Linked DNA regions of Homo sapiens: all the other regions are linked to region 1. The links are contacts of gene promoters, found by promoter capture Hi-C in blood cells and fetal thymus (Javierre and others, 2016). All regions are on one chromosome and are shown on one strand. Each heading gives the region's core, a stretch centred on a gene start or on the middle of the fragment in contact. The rest is flanking DNA. Distances are from core to core; before and after follow the strand shown. Region 1 holds the start of B3GNT5 (UDP-GlcNAc:betaGal beta-1,3-N-acetylglucosaminyltransferase 5). Region 2 overlaps MCF2L2 (MCF.2 cell line derived transforming sequence-like 2). Region 3 overlaps LAMP3 (lysosomal associated membrane protein 3). Region 4 has its middle 11 kb from the start of LAMP3. Region 5 overlaps MCF2L2 (MCF.2 cell line derived transforming sequence-like 2).

Region 1 (2,589 bases), core at 44-2,543:
ACATACTTTTGAAACCATTTATCTATCTGGTGTGTTTATCTGTATCTAGTATGATGTGAATATGTGATTTGTATGTGTGTCTACCACTGTTTTGGTCAGTTTGTATTTCTCGTGGGTACAGTTCTATGTGCTCATGTATGTGGAACATATGTATACTGACACATGGACCTAGCTCCAAATGATCTGAAAGGAATATAATTGTAATTGAATATTTGCACAGATATACAACATACACATGTGATGGCTGGGGGAAATGCATGTGGGATTTCAGTCAGCATTTTATTAGAGAAGGTATGTCATTAGTGCTGTATTAACAATGAATCAGCTTATTTGTGGGTCACTGTCAATGACTCCTTTGCAAATCACACATGTAAATATTTCTGTCTGTGGTCTGATGAACATGCAGTGCCACAGTCTGGGAGATGCTGAGCCATGCCCTGTGTAGGCAGCATATGAAAAGAACTGCATGATTTAAAAGATGCTGACCAGCTTAAGGAAAGCAATTTAAAAACTTCCTAAAAATCTAGTTTGAATGAACAACAGTTTTCATTTTGTGTGTGTGTTTTTTCTTTTAGAGATGGGGTCTTGCTATGTTGGCCACGCTGGTCTCTAACTCCTGGGATCAAGCAATCCTCCTGCGGCTCAGCCTCCCAAAGTGATGGGATTACAGGTGTGAGCCACCGTGTCTGCTGGCCCCACTGTTTTAAACCCTGATTCGACAATCATACATTTAACTCATTACCTGTCTTGTTCCTTTTACGACAAACTCAAAGCTTTTATTTTACTAAAGTATTTGGGTTAATCTTTTGCTTTTCTGTCATGTTCTGAAATATGTACAATAACAGAATCGCTCAAAATATTATCTCCGTTAAATGTTTTGTGGCTTTAGGGAGAGGTCTAACAACATGCGGGAAACAAGAAATCAAGCGCATCCAGGATTCATTTATAATCTCTCTCGTTGAGTAGAAGTCCGCATCTCTCGATATTGTCTGGTTACCTGCATGAAGTATTCTAAAGGAGGAAAATAGCTCAAAGAGGACATTCATGTGCACTCTGGCTTCCAGTTGGCCATTTGAGTAAGTGATCGCAATTAACTGACGAGCGGCAGGGAAACACTTCCTGGAATTCTCATCTACAGACAAGAACAAACTGGGGCGGGGCCCATCACCTTCACCTACGCGCCGGGAGGGTGGCGGCTGGCGGGCGGGGCCGGGCTCGGGCCGTGACGCCGAGAGTGCGGGGCGCGCGGCTGGGAGCCTCGCGCCCCCGCCCGGGCCCGCCCCCATCCCGCCCGCATACAGCCCGCATCCCGCCGGGGAAGCGAGCCCAGTCCAGCGCTGCCCGTCCAGTCCTCGCCCAAGATTTAAAGCCCGCAAGTTTTGTTCTTGAGACCAGCGACTTTAGCTCCGATGCGGGAAGGAAAGCCGACCTCCGATTTGGACATTTAAAGAGCTGGGCTTGAACTTCGTGAGTTTCGCTCTAAACTGCCCTTGAAATGAAGCTGGACTTGGAGGTAAAGTCACTGGGAAGCTGGCCTGGGGCGGGGTTTCCCCCTCTTCTCGTATTTTAGAAACGGACAGCGGCAGTGCAGCCCTAGTTTGCTGTAAGTTTCCTTACTTTGTTACTGAGGCCCCCAGAGCTCCACGCATAAGTGGTGTGACCAGAAACCTTTTAACAAGACCCGCCTGAGCCTGCGTTAGAGCTCCCGCTCGGAAAGTAAAAGACCATCCTAATCCGCGGCGCTGCGGAACCGGTGTCCCGTGTGGGAGGAACCGCGGCGTTCCCTGGGCGTAGGGCCCGCGAGGCCAGCACAGTCCGCCTCTTGGCGGAGCGCCCTGGGCCGGTGGTTCCGCGCGGAGTTAGTCTGTGGTCAGTTACGTGGTGAAAACACGGCTGTGCCGCGGCCGCATCTTTCCGCGGCCGAGGCCTCTCTGGGTGGGAGTGTTGGCTTCCTTTCCGGATCGCTAAATGGGGAAAGTTCTGGCCGCTCGGCGGGATACGTCTCCAGGCCACGGATGGTTCGTTCTCCGTGCCGCGGCCCCGAGCTGGGCTCCCTGGGTCTCCAGCGCGGGCTCCCGGCATTGGGGGCTGCGGGCCGGCCCCTCCGCCCCGCCCCCGCCCCGCCGCGCCTCCTCGGCCGAGCGGCTCGCGGTCTCCGGCGCGGGAGGCTCCGAGTCTGCCCACTCCGGGCCGAGCGAGGTCTCTGGAGGAGAAGAGTGGCGAGGAGGTGAGGGCACGCCGGCCCTCGCCCGGCGGGTGGCGCCAGGACTTCAGGTGGGAACGCGCGCTTGGGCCGGGGGCGCGTGGCTGGCGTGGACACCGGATCGGGGCCCGCCGCCCTGGCCCGGACCGCGCACGGCCCAGCGCCGGGAAGTCGGGAAGCCGGGGAGGCCTCTCCCACCGCGGGCCCCGGCAGCCCGCCCTCTGAAAGCGCGGCGGAGAAGGAGGCTCGTCCCCTCCCCGGAACGCCTTTGTTCCCTCCGGCCTGCCCGCGCGGGTGGCCAGCGGCTGGGACCCAGGCCGGGCCGCCGCCCAGGTGCGGCAGGTAGGCTCGGGGGCCGGGCAGCTCCGGTTGGGGCGGCTTCCCGG
Region 2 (2,589 bases), core at 56-2,555, 100 kb after region 1:
TCTTTGCCATATTTTGAAATGATCCCGCAAAGCTGTCTCTTGTGGGGAAAATCTACATTCTGCAGAGAATCCCCTTCCCTTTCCAGGTCTTTTCCTGATCCAGGAGAGAGATTTAACTGAGAGTCTGGCACCTTTTACGGTCTGATAAGGGACATTTACCATCTATTCTCTCTAAAGCCTGCTACATACCAAGAACCTTGGCTTCCACAACCTGCACCCTCCCACCCCACCCCACTTATCTTAACCCCCAGCATTTCTTTCTGCTGACTTCTACTCTTTAGATAATAACTTAACCATTTCAACCAATTACCAATCAGAAAATGTTTGAATCCACCTATGATCTGTAAGTCTCTCACCCAGTGGTTCAAGTTTTCAAGTTGTCTCACCTTTCTGGACCAAACCAATGTACATCTTACATGTATTGATTGTTGTTTGCCTGTAACTCCTGTCTCCCTAAAATGTATAAAATCAAGCTATTACCCAATGACCTTGGGCACATGTTCTTAGGACCTCCTGAGGCTGTGTCATGGCGTCGTGGTCCTTACATTTGGCTCAGAATAAAGTTCTTCAAATATTTTACAGAGTTTGGCCCTTTTGAGTCAACATAGGTATGTTACTGATCAATAACGTAGTCCCTATAAGCATGCAAAGGGAATAAATCCATCATGAATGCATGAATAAATACAGAAATAAATGTAAGAATTAAAGCATGTTTCCAGGTCTTTGTACTGTGTGAAGTGATATAAAATAATTGTTTAAAGCACTGGCATAAAATGCTTCTATTTATTTTAATAATATTATTTATTATTCATTATATTATTTATTATTTATTTTATTTTATTTTCATAAGTCTAATGGATCCCATCCCCTCCACACACTCCACCACAACTTTCTTTACATGATATTGATTTCTAGAATTTACATGAAATGTTTGAAAATGAAAAAAACTAGGGGATTGTGAGGAGGAAGCAAGAGACAGGTAATGTCACTAGAAAAGGATCAGATCTTGTTGCTTGTGGATATGAATGAATTCCTCTTTCTAAGGATACTGACCTTAGAAAATGGAGGGGAAAATGCTTGAAGGCCTCTTAGAGGCAACTCCAACACAGTCTTACTCTTTCAGTAGAGGGGGGCAGAAAGCAGGAATAGCAAAATAATTACTTAGCTACCATAATCAACAATTCCTTTCCTTTTTTTTTTTTTTGAGACGGAGTCTCGCTCTGTCGCATAGGTGGAGTGCCGTGGCGCGATCTCGGCTCACTGCAAGCTCCGCCTCCCGGGTTCACACCATTCTCCTGCCTCAGCCTCCCGAGTAGCTGGGACTACAGGCGCCCGCCACCACGCCCAGCTAATTTTTTTTTTTTTTTTTTTTTTTTTGGTATTTTTAGTAGAGACAGGGTTTCACCGTGTTAGCCAGGATGGTCTTGATCTCCTGACCTCGTGATCCGCCTGCCTCGGCCTCCCAAAGTGCTGGGATTACAGGCGTGAGCCACCGCACCCGGCCATCAACAATGCTTTTCAAGTCCACACCAGTCACCTGAGGGTCCTGTTAAACATAGCAATTTCAAGTCATGAAGCTAGGGGTGATGCCCCAGATTCTGCATTTCTGACAGGCTTCCAGGTGATGTTCATTCTGGGGCCTCACTTGGAGTGACTAGGGCAGTGGGCCCCTCCTTCCCCCCTCCCCTCCCCTTGTGAATAAAGAGCAGCTGGCTGTAGCATTTGCCCCATCTGCAGCCTTGCAAACCTCTTCCTTCACAAAGTAGATTTGCCAGGACAGTGCCTAGGCTATAGGAGTTGAAGCTAAGGAGGAGGAAGAGCAGTGCCTGAAGAAACTTCAGACCATATGCAAGAAAGACTCAAAAGAAGAATACAAAGAGCAGGTCTTTCTAGAAATAAAATTGACTTAAAAAAAAAAAAAAAACTCTGCCTCTAGAGCAAAGTACTCTTTATTATAAAAAAAAAAAGTATTGCCGGGCATTGTAGCTCACACCTGTAATCCCAGCACTTTGGGAGGCCAAGGCAGGCTGATCACGAGGTCAAGAGATTGAGACCATCCTGGCCAACACGGTGAAACCCTGTCTCTACTAAAAATATAAAAATTAGTTGGGCGTGGTGGCATGCACCTGTAGTCCCAGCTACTCAGGAGGTTGAAGCAGGAGAATTGTTTGAACCCGGGAGGCAGAGGTTGCAGTGAGTCGAGATTGCGCCACTGCACTCCAGCCTGGCAACAGAGCAAGACTCCGTCTCAAAATAAATAAATAAATAAAATAAAAGTATTGCCTACTCCCTAATCAAGCATCCCTAAAGGAAAATCTATTTATAGGACCCACTCACTGTTGCAGAGTCTACTGACCTCAATTTCCTCCCATTCAAGTGCAAGTACCTTGGTTAAACAGAGCTACCCAATTGCAAAGGAAATCCAAGTCAGATAATTATATTTACAACATAACCCTTCAAAAATATAAAAAGGCAACCAAAGATCTTCTGAATTGAATAAAAGCAAAGCATCAAAGAGAAAGACTGAGGTGAACAAACAGAACAGCCAATCTAGAAACAATGAAAACAACTACAAAAAAGTTTATATTT
Region 3 (2,589 bases), core at 1-2,500, 98 kb before region 1:
AAAACATAATCACCTTTTAATGGAGCACCTTGGAGAGAGATGAGCTCACAGCTATTGGTTTCATTTAAAGACACAGGATGTGGGGAATGCTCATTCCTAGCAAGGCAACCTCCACTCAGACTTTTTGAAGATAGTGTTATAGTCCTGTGGCCCCAACTTACCGACTCCTTGTCTTGAACAATCAGCTGTATCCCCATCTCTGCTTTTATACAGAGTCTGCTTCCGTTTAGAACCTGATAAATTCCAGTCTTGACTGACGATGGCTGAGGTGCAAGGGTGGGCCCAGGAACCGTGGAGGCAGGTGCAGCTGTGCGGGTGGTATTGTGGGCAGCTGCCGTTGTTCCTGGGGCATGGGTGGGTTGAACAGGCTTCTGACCGGTTGTGCTTTTGTGCAGTGCTATCGATAAAGTTGCTGGAAGGGTGGTCTGGTTACTGGGTTGAGTGGTGTTCCCAGTTGTGTGGCTGACGGTTGATGAACTGGTTCCAGTTGTATGAGCTGGTGGGGTGATGGTGGGTGGCAGTGAATAAGGGGCTAAGCTAGGGCCGACTGTAACTTCAGTAACTGGAGGAGCTGTGTGTGAGTTGTTGGGTGTGGCCTGGGTTGTGACCAGGGTGTAGGTAATTGGGCTGGTGGTTGCAGTGTTTTTTGTAGTCGCTGGGGTAGTTGTTGGAATTTTTACTGTGGCCGCTGTTTGAAAGGTGATATGACCATCCATGAATCTTGCTGCTAAAGTTTGGTGAGGTGCTTGCTTAGCTGGTTGCTGGACAGGTTTTTTTATGTCCTGTACTGTTGCTGCTGCAGTAGGTTGAGAATAATCTCTGGTTTCTGGAAATGCTTTTGCTCTCATTTGACTGCCATCGTGCAAAATTACTGAAAATTAGGAAATAAAAGTGTTAAAAACACTAACCGATTGCTTACAAGGTTCCCTCTCCCATCCCCATCTTAATGTCTGTTCATAAAAAAACCTAACATGCATATTTTTATACTTGGGGGAAATTTGCAAGGGTACAACAATGAAGCAAACATCACCAAAGATTCTACCCCCAGGACACAATTGTAATGTTCTGGTTGTATCCATGCCTTTTACAGGGTTATGACAGTTCCACAGCACCCAGCCCCTTTGCCTGTGTGAGGTGTGGTACTAATACACGCCAAAGTGATCATGCTCAGCTAGATATCTAAGTGTCAATGCCTCTTCATTCTCCACCTTCAAATGTGGATCCGGACAGCTGACATAAAATAGTGTTCCTGGGTGAACAGCTGCTGTATGACCTGATAGAGCTGGGGCAGCATGAATGATGGTAATAAAGATTTACAGAGTTACACAGTTTTCACAGAATCATATAATCCCAGGTTTGAAAGGGGTCTTAAAAGTCATCTAGTCCAAACTCCAATCTTTTTTTTCTTTTTTGAGACAGAGTCTTGCTCTGTTGCTCAGGCTGGAGTACAGTGGCACAATCTCGGCTCACTGCAACCTCTGCCTCCTGGGTTCAAGCGATTCTCCAGCCTCAGCCTCGTGAGTAGCTGGGATTAAAGGCACCTGCCACCACGCCCGGCTAATTTTTGTATTTTTAGTAGAGATGGGGTTTCACCATGTTGTCCAGGCTGGTCTCAAACTCATCTTGTGATCCGCCTGCCTCAGCCTTTCAAAGTGCTGGGATTATAGGCGTGAGCCACCGTGCCCCACCCCAAACCCTAATCTGATGTTTGAATTACACCTACAGATCTTTGCCATGCGTTCATCCAATCTAGACTTAACTGTTCCCAATGACAGGAGACTCATCTCTTCACAATACAGTCCTTTCCATTTTTTATCTTGTCACTTGTTGTTTTCTCAATACAGACCAATTCCTGTCATTTTCGTACTTAACTTTTGGAGTGGCCCAGTCTTTCTCAACCAAGAAAGAGAAGTCATAACTGCTCTGATATTTCAGGTGGGTTGTCCTTTGTGTTCTGGCTTTCATGGCAGCTCCTCAGAGCATCTTCCTTGTCCTCCTTATATAAAATAGTTCCCCATATCCATGATTCTCCACTGCAGTGTTAAATTCATTGCTTTCACTGCATTAATTACAACTTGTAAGTATATATGGGGATGGTATTCAAATATTTAACAATCAGCCTGGCCAGTATGTACCAGCCAAATATTTTCCCTGATTAAATGTTTGCTTATTGGTTTATTTGTTGGTTGTGGAACTTTCCTAGTAGATTAAGAGCACCGTGAAGGTGGAAACTGTGTGTACCATTTTTACCGTCAGTGCCTGCACATAGACAGTGTTCAGTAAATATGGGTCGAACGAAAAAATGACAGAATGTGTTAATGAGGACAACAGCATTGTAGGCCTTTTAGGATTATTGTAAGGCTCACATGAGTTGGTTTAAGTAAAACTCTTCATGGACCATTAAGCACACAGACGGTGTCTACTGTTGTCACAGGTTCTCTCCAGAGGCTGTCCTTAAGGGCAGAGGTCCTCCGTTCTTTTCCAACTAGAACAGGTCTATCCTTGCCTCCTTCCAGGCACATAGGGATCCAGAAAAGTGGACAAAACACAGATGTTGGGCCGGGCGCGGTGGCTCACGCCTGTAATCCC
Region 4 (2,589 bases), core at 68-2,567, 79 kb before region 1:
AGAATCAGAGGGTTTTTTGTTGTTGTTGTTTTGTTTTTCAAGTTTTTGTTCCTTTTTCTCCATCTGTGTTGGATTTACCAGCCCCCTAGGAGCGTCAGTATTTGTTACCCTTCCTCCAGGCTTTTAAGGCCTTTGTAGGAGAGATGGGCCAATAGCATCTGAGCATGGTTTTGTGTCTTTCTTGTAGCAACTGATATTCCTCACCCCCAGGTCTATGCCAGGAAGGATGCTTCCTTACATGCCTGTAATCCCAGCTACCGGGGAGGCTGAAGCAGAAGAATCACTTGAACCCAGGAGGCAGAGGTTGCAGTGAGCCAAGATCATGCCACTGCACTCCAGCCTGGCAACAGAGCGAGACTTCATTCAAAAAAAAAAAAAGCTCTTACACTCTTCTGCATATTCTGCAAAGTATACTCTGGGAAGGCTGGTTTAGAGGATCTCTAACTTTTCTAATATTTCATAATGCATGGCTGATGTTTAACATGAACTCAGACTCCCATCAGATTTTACAGATCTGGGTCTGCTTTTAGTTCTAATGCTTCAGCCAGGGCACTTTAATCTGAGGTCACAGCATTCCCAATTGTCAGCAGTATTTTGAAATCTAAGTTCCTCTGGTGGACAACAGGCAACATCATATAGCCACGGAGGATCTGAACAACTTCTAAGTCTGAGGGATTTTATCTGGTGGTTTTGGATTCTTTTCCATTTATACTTAAACAAGGTGACACAAATGTCACTCACAGAAAAGCCACTCTTTTTTCCCCTGTTTTTAAGAAGTCTAAAAATGCACAACTATTTCCTGAATGAGCAGTGTGTCCAGGTGTAGAATAGGGAATGTCGTGTCCACTGGGAACAGACGGTGTACCTGGCACAATTTTATGAGAATTATCCCATGATTCCTGTCCCACCCTGCAGCCCACCATGGGCTCAGTGGGGAGTCTGAGTCTCTGAGCCCCAAAGGGTAGCTTTTTCCCAGACGACACCAGCAAGCAGAGCAGCAGCTTGGGGCTTTGACAAGGAGGCTGGAGTGAAAGGTCATATTGGACCATCCTGGATCACTGGAGGACAATACCCCAGGAACCTCCAGCAATGACTGGTATTGGAATGACTCCCCTGGTCACCCACCTGTGGCAAGACATTTGCAAACAGGGTCTTCCTATGAGGCTTGTGAGGTTTGGCCAATTTGCATTCTGCTAGAATTATTAAGTATGGACATCCTCATAGATCCAGAAAAGGGCCGAGATCCAAAGGATTGAGAATGCTTTGGGGGGTGTTTCCATAGTGAGTGGCTGGCTATTCAACAGTCAAATGTTTGAGAGGATACAAGTGATGTGTTTCCTGAGGCAAGTGGTCAGAACCCAACAGACTCTTCTGTTCAGCTAAGATGAGAGACCATCTGAAGTTCTTACATGTTCTCACAGAGAAATGGATTCTCATAGGGAAATGGATATATTGTGATAGACACTGTAAGCAGAGAAGTTGACTGAGAAACACACACACACACACACACACACACACACACGTCAAGACTGAATGCATAGATGTGTATTATAAAAAGTGTAAAAATACACCACCATTGTAACAGATTGTGTAGGACTATATTTTCTTTTTTTTTAATTTATTATTATTATACTTTAAGTTTTAGGGTACATGTGCACAATGTGCAGGTTAGTTACATATGTATACATGTGCCATGCTGGTGTGCTGCACCCATTAACTCGTCATTTAGCATTAGGTATATCTCCTAATGCTATCCCTCCCCCCTTCCCCCACCCCACAACAGTCCCCAGAATGGGATGTTCCCCTTCCTGTGTCCATGTGTTCTCATTGTTCAATTCCCACCTATGAGTGAGAATATGTGGTGTTTTGTTTTTTGTCCTTGCAATAGTTTACTGAGAATGATGATTTCCAATTTCATCCATGTCCCTACAAAGGACATGAACTCACCATTTTTTATGGCTGCATAGTATTCCATGGTGTATATGTGCCACATTTTCTTAATCCAGTCTATCATTGTTGGACATTTGGGTTGGTTCCAAGTCTTTGCTATTGTGAATAGTGCCACAATAAACATACGTGTGCATGTGTCTTTATAGCAGCATGATTTATAGTCCTTTGGGTATATACCCAGTAATGGGATGGCTGGGTCAAATGGTATTTCTAGTTCTAGATCCCTGAGGAATCGCCACACTGACTTCCACAATGGTTGAACTAGTTTACAGTCCCACCAACAGTGTAAAAGTGTTCCTATTTCTCCACATCCTCTCCAGCACCTGTTGTTTCCTGACTTTTTAATGATTGCCATTCTAACTGGTGTGAGATGGTATCTCACTGTGGTTTTGATTTGCATTTCTCTGATGGCCAGTGATGATGAGCATTTTTTCATGTGTTTTTTGGCTGCATCAGTGCTCTACACGTTCAGAGAAACTTCTCTAGTGACGAACTATAGAAATGATCCCTGAAAGTATAGTCTTAGGACTATATTTTCTTTTGACTTGGGAGGCATGTTTATTGCTGTTAATGCTGCAAAGGGCTCTACGTGCTTTAAAAAATCCCAATCTGTTGCATTCATAAGCCTGGGTTGGATCT
Region 5 (2,589 bases), core at 24-2,523, 70 kb after region 1:
CCTTCATGACTTAATACATCCCAAAAGCCCCCTCCTCTTAATGCTATCACATTAGGTTCCAACATGTGAATTTTGAGGGGACGCCAACATTCAAGCCATGACTATGAGTTTTGATCTTTTTCCTCAATATTACTGAAACTCCTAACTTAGCATAACAATCACCAGTATCAGTAGGTAGGAAAAAGTAAAATACTATATATCAGGTGCTTTCACAGACAATACATCACTTATTCCCCACATCAAACTTTCAGGAGGCTTTCGTTAGTCCGGGGTTTCTCAGCATTGGCTATTCACACTTTGGGCCAGAGGATTCTTTGTTGTGGGAGGCTGTCTTGAGCATTGTAAGGTGTTCAGCGGAGTCCCTGACGACCCACCAGATACCAGTTAACTTTCCCCACTAAGTTATGACTACAAAAAAGTCTAAAGATATTGACAAATGTAGGAGGCAGGCAAAATTATCCCCTATAGAGAAATACTGTGTTAGTCCCATTTTAACAGATGAAGAAACAAGCTCAGAAATGCTTAGAAACTCACCCAACATCAGACAACATGTTATTGTGACAATTTTTTAAAATTAATTTCAACTTTGATTTTAGATTCGGGGGTACATGTGCAGGTTTGTTACATGGGTATATTGCATGATGCCAAGGTTTGGGGTACAGTTGATCCTGTCACCCAGGTAGTGAGTATCGTACCCAATAGTTCTACAATCCTTGTCCCCCTCCCACCTTCTCACCTATAGTAGTCCCCGGGGGGTGACACTATTTAAATGTAGCTTCTTCTGACTTCATGGGTGTCAATATGTATGTACGTTAGAATCATCTGGGGAGTTCTGTGGTGTGTTAATGTCTAAGACCCATCCCACATGAAGTAAATTAGTTTCTCTGAGGTATAACAGGCTATTGGTGTTTCTGGAAACTTCCCAGGTGCATTCGAAGGTAAGTGTCCCAAAACCCCCACACCGGGAGATGCAGTGGGGTAAGGTGGTCAACAGGAGAAATCCCAGCCTTCGCCCTTCCACACTCCTTCTTCCCCACCCTGTGGCTGAGAAATCCCAACCACCCCAAGGTCAGGCAGTCACAGGGTGACCTCCTGGCAGTTGATCTTTAACTCCCCCACCCCATCTTCCAGAAAACAAGGAGAGACAGTGAAAAGCACACGTAAGCTGGTACTCACAGTGCGGTGATTTACCCACTGACCGTGGCGATATTCCAAAGTCCCCCCTAATTCCCGGGTCAGTTGGCTTTTGTCGATGTAGCCGTGAAGGTCAGAGACAGAGTTTACCATGATGATCTGTAAGGTAAAAATTTAATTAAACATACTCCTCATTGATCATTAAATAATAGCTCATTTACATTCTATTCTTATCATAATTATATTTTATATTCTATTATTATTTAAATGATACTCCAACTTTGCTTTATCAGGCATTTATATTTAAAAATGGTTACAGCCAAGCACAGTCGCTCATGCCGGTAATCTCAGCACTTTGGAAGGCTGAGGTGGGAGAATCATTTGAGGCCTGGAGTTTGAGACCAGCCAGAGCAACATAGCAAGACCCCATCACTAGAAAAAAAATAAAAAAAAAAATTAGCCAGGCATGGTGGCATGCACCTGTGGCCCCAGCTACTTGGGTGGCTAAGTCAAGAGGACTGCTTGGGCCTGGAGGTTAAGGCTGCAGCAAACAGTGATCGCACCATGGCACTCCAGCCTGGGCGACAGAACAAGACCACATCAAAAAAAAAAAAAAAAGTTACTATATCCAGCAGGGAAATATTTTAAAGTCTCTTCCATTTTTTGCTTTTGAGTGAGAAATACCAAAGCGTGGTATAGCCTGTGACAAAATGTTGACTTGGCTCAGGGAACACAGTTCCAGGCTACCTAGAAGTCAGGCCTTGCTTTACGTGAATTTTCAGTCATAAGTTCCCAAGCTAAGGTACACCTTTCAGCCACCAAAATCAAGTGTTGTGCAATGGCCTGAAAGTCTACCATGAGAAGCCCAATCAAAGCTGGTCGGGTAAATGTGAAAATAAAACTAGAATACAGGGAAACACAAAGAGTATGCATTGAAAAGACTCACTACACTGGTGCGCCCCGATGAAGAATATTGATGTGTCCCTACTTTAGCTTGCACTGAGGGGATCTGGAGGTGACAGGGCATTGGGTTTTATAAGCTAGCAGTTCCGCTGATGAGCGAACACTCACACATCCAGAGGAAGCTGACGCATCCCCAATTGCCCCTTTCTATTCCTTGGCAGTAGTTCTGGCCTGGGTGTGGTTCTGGCTCACTCAGTGACTATATCACACCCTCTACTCACTCCTGAGTGGGACAAGGACTCCTCACTCCTATCTCTGAAACACATCTTTGAAGCCTTTAACTATGACATTATATTTTTTCACTCCCTGTTGATTATTTTGAAAATTAACTCTTGGTCAGAGGACATAAGAATATGGACTTCCTTCTATTATTGTAAAGTATTAGTCAAGGAATGAATCCACTTTGGAATGAGAATATAAATTAGAGACCAGCCAGGTACGGTGGTTTGCACCTGTAATCCCAGCTACTCAGGAGGCTGAGGCAGGAGGACT

What was found. The method cuts DNA at HindIII sites, captures the fragments that hold promoters and counts their contacts. A CHiCAGO score of 5 or more calls a contact.
Region 2: a fragment that was not itself captured here is called in contact with the fragment with the promoter of B3GNT5 in region 1 in 6 of 17 cell types (erythroblasts, M2 macrophages, megakaryocytes and 3 more); the score reaches 9.7 in erythroblasts.
Region 3: a contact is called between a fragment that was not itself captured here and the fragment with the promoter of B3GNT5 in region 1, in 2 of 17 cell types (M2 macrophages and activated CD4 T cells). The highest score is 6.0, in M2 macrophages.
Region 4: a fragment that was not itself captured here is called in contact with the fragment with the promoter of B3GNT5 in region 1 in 1 of 17 cell types (M2 macrophages); the score reaches 5.1 in M2 macrophages.
Region 5: a contact is called between a fragment that was not itself captured here and the fragment with the promoter of B3GNT5 in region 1, in 1 of 17 cell types (M2 macrophages). The highest score is 5.2, in M2 macrophages.

Annotation. Positions count from the first base shown.
Region 1 is chr3:183,251,960-183,254,548 of GRCh38, forward strand. It overlaps B3GNT5 (UDP-GlcNAc:betaGal beta-1,3-N-acetylglucosaminyltransferase 5), which reads left to right and starts at 1,294. Exons shown (of 2, transcript NM_032047.5): 1 at 1,294-1,513. The region is part of intron 15 of MCF2L2 (MCF.2 cell line derived transforming sequence-like 2); the gene reads right to left. LOC124906310 (a long non-coding RNA gene) reads left to right here. Exons shown (of 3, transcript XR_007096189.1): 3 at 576-596. The HindIII fragment of the contact is 12,746 bases long and covers 772-2,589 here.
Region 2 is chr3:183,354,262-183,356,850 of GRCh38, forward strand. The region is part of intron 3 of MCF2L2 (MCF.2 cell line derived transforming sequence-like 2); the gene reads right to left. Among named protein-coding and RNA genes, the nearest start is that of MCF2L2, 73 kb to the right of the region's middle. The HindIII fragment of the contact is 4,685 bases long and covers 1-2,589 here.
Region 3 is chr3:183,153,521-183,156,109 of GRCh38, forward strand. It overlaps LAMP3 (lysosomal associated membrane protein 3), which reads right to left. Exons shown (of 6, transcript NM_014398.4): 2 at 162-871. Among named protein-coding and RNA genes, the nearest start is that of LAMP3, 7.9 kb to the right of the region's middle. The HindIII fragment of the contact is 4,200 bases long and covers 1-2,589 here.
Region 4 is chr3:183,172,534-183,175,122 of GRCh38, forward strand. It overlaps the pseudogene SNORD3P4. Among named protein-coding and RNA genes, the nearest start is that of LAMP3, 11 kb to the left of the region's middle. The HindIII fragment of the contact is 3,498 bases long and covers 1-2,589 here.
Region 5 is chr3:183,322,059-183,324,647 of GRCh38, forward strand. MCF2L2 (MCF.2 cell line derived transforming sequence-like 2) reads right to left here. Exons shown (of 30, transcript NM_015078.4): 6 at 1,177-1,293. Among named protein-coding and RNA genes, the nearest start is that of B3GNT5, 70 kb to the left of the region's middle. The HindIII fragment of the contact is 4,944 bases long and covers 1-2,589 here.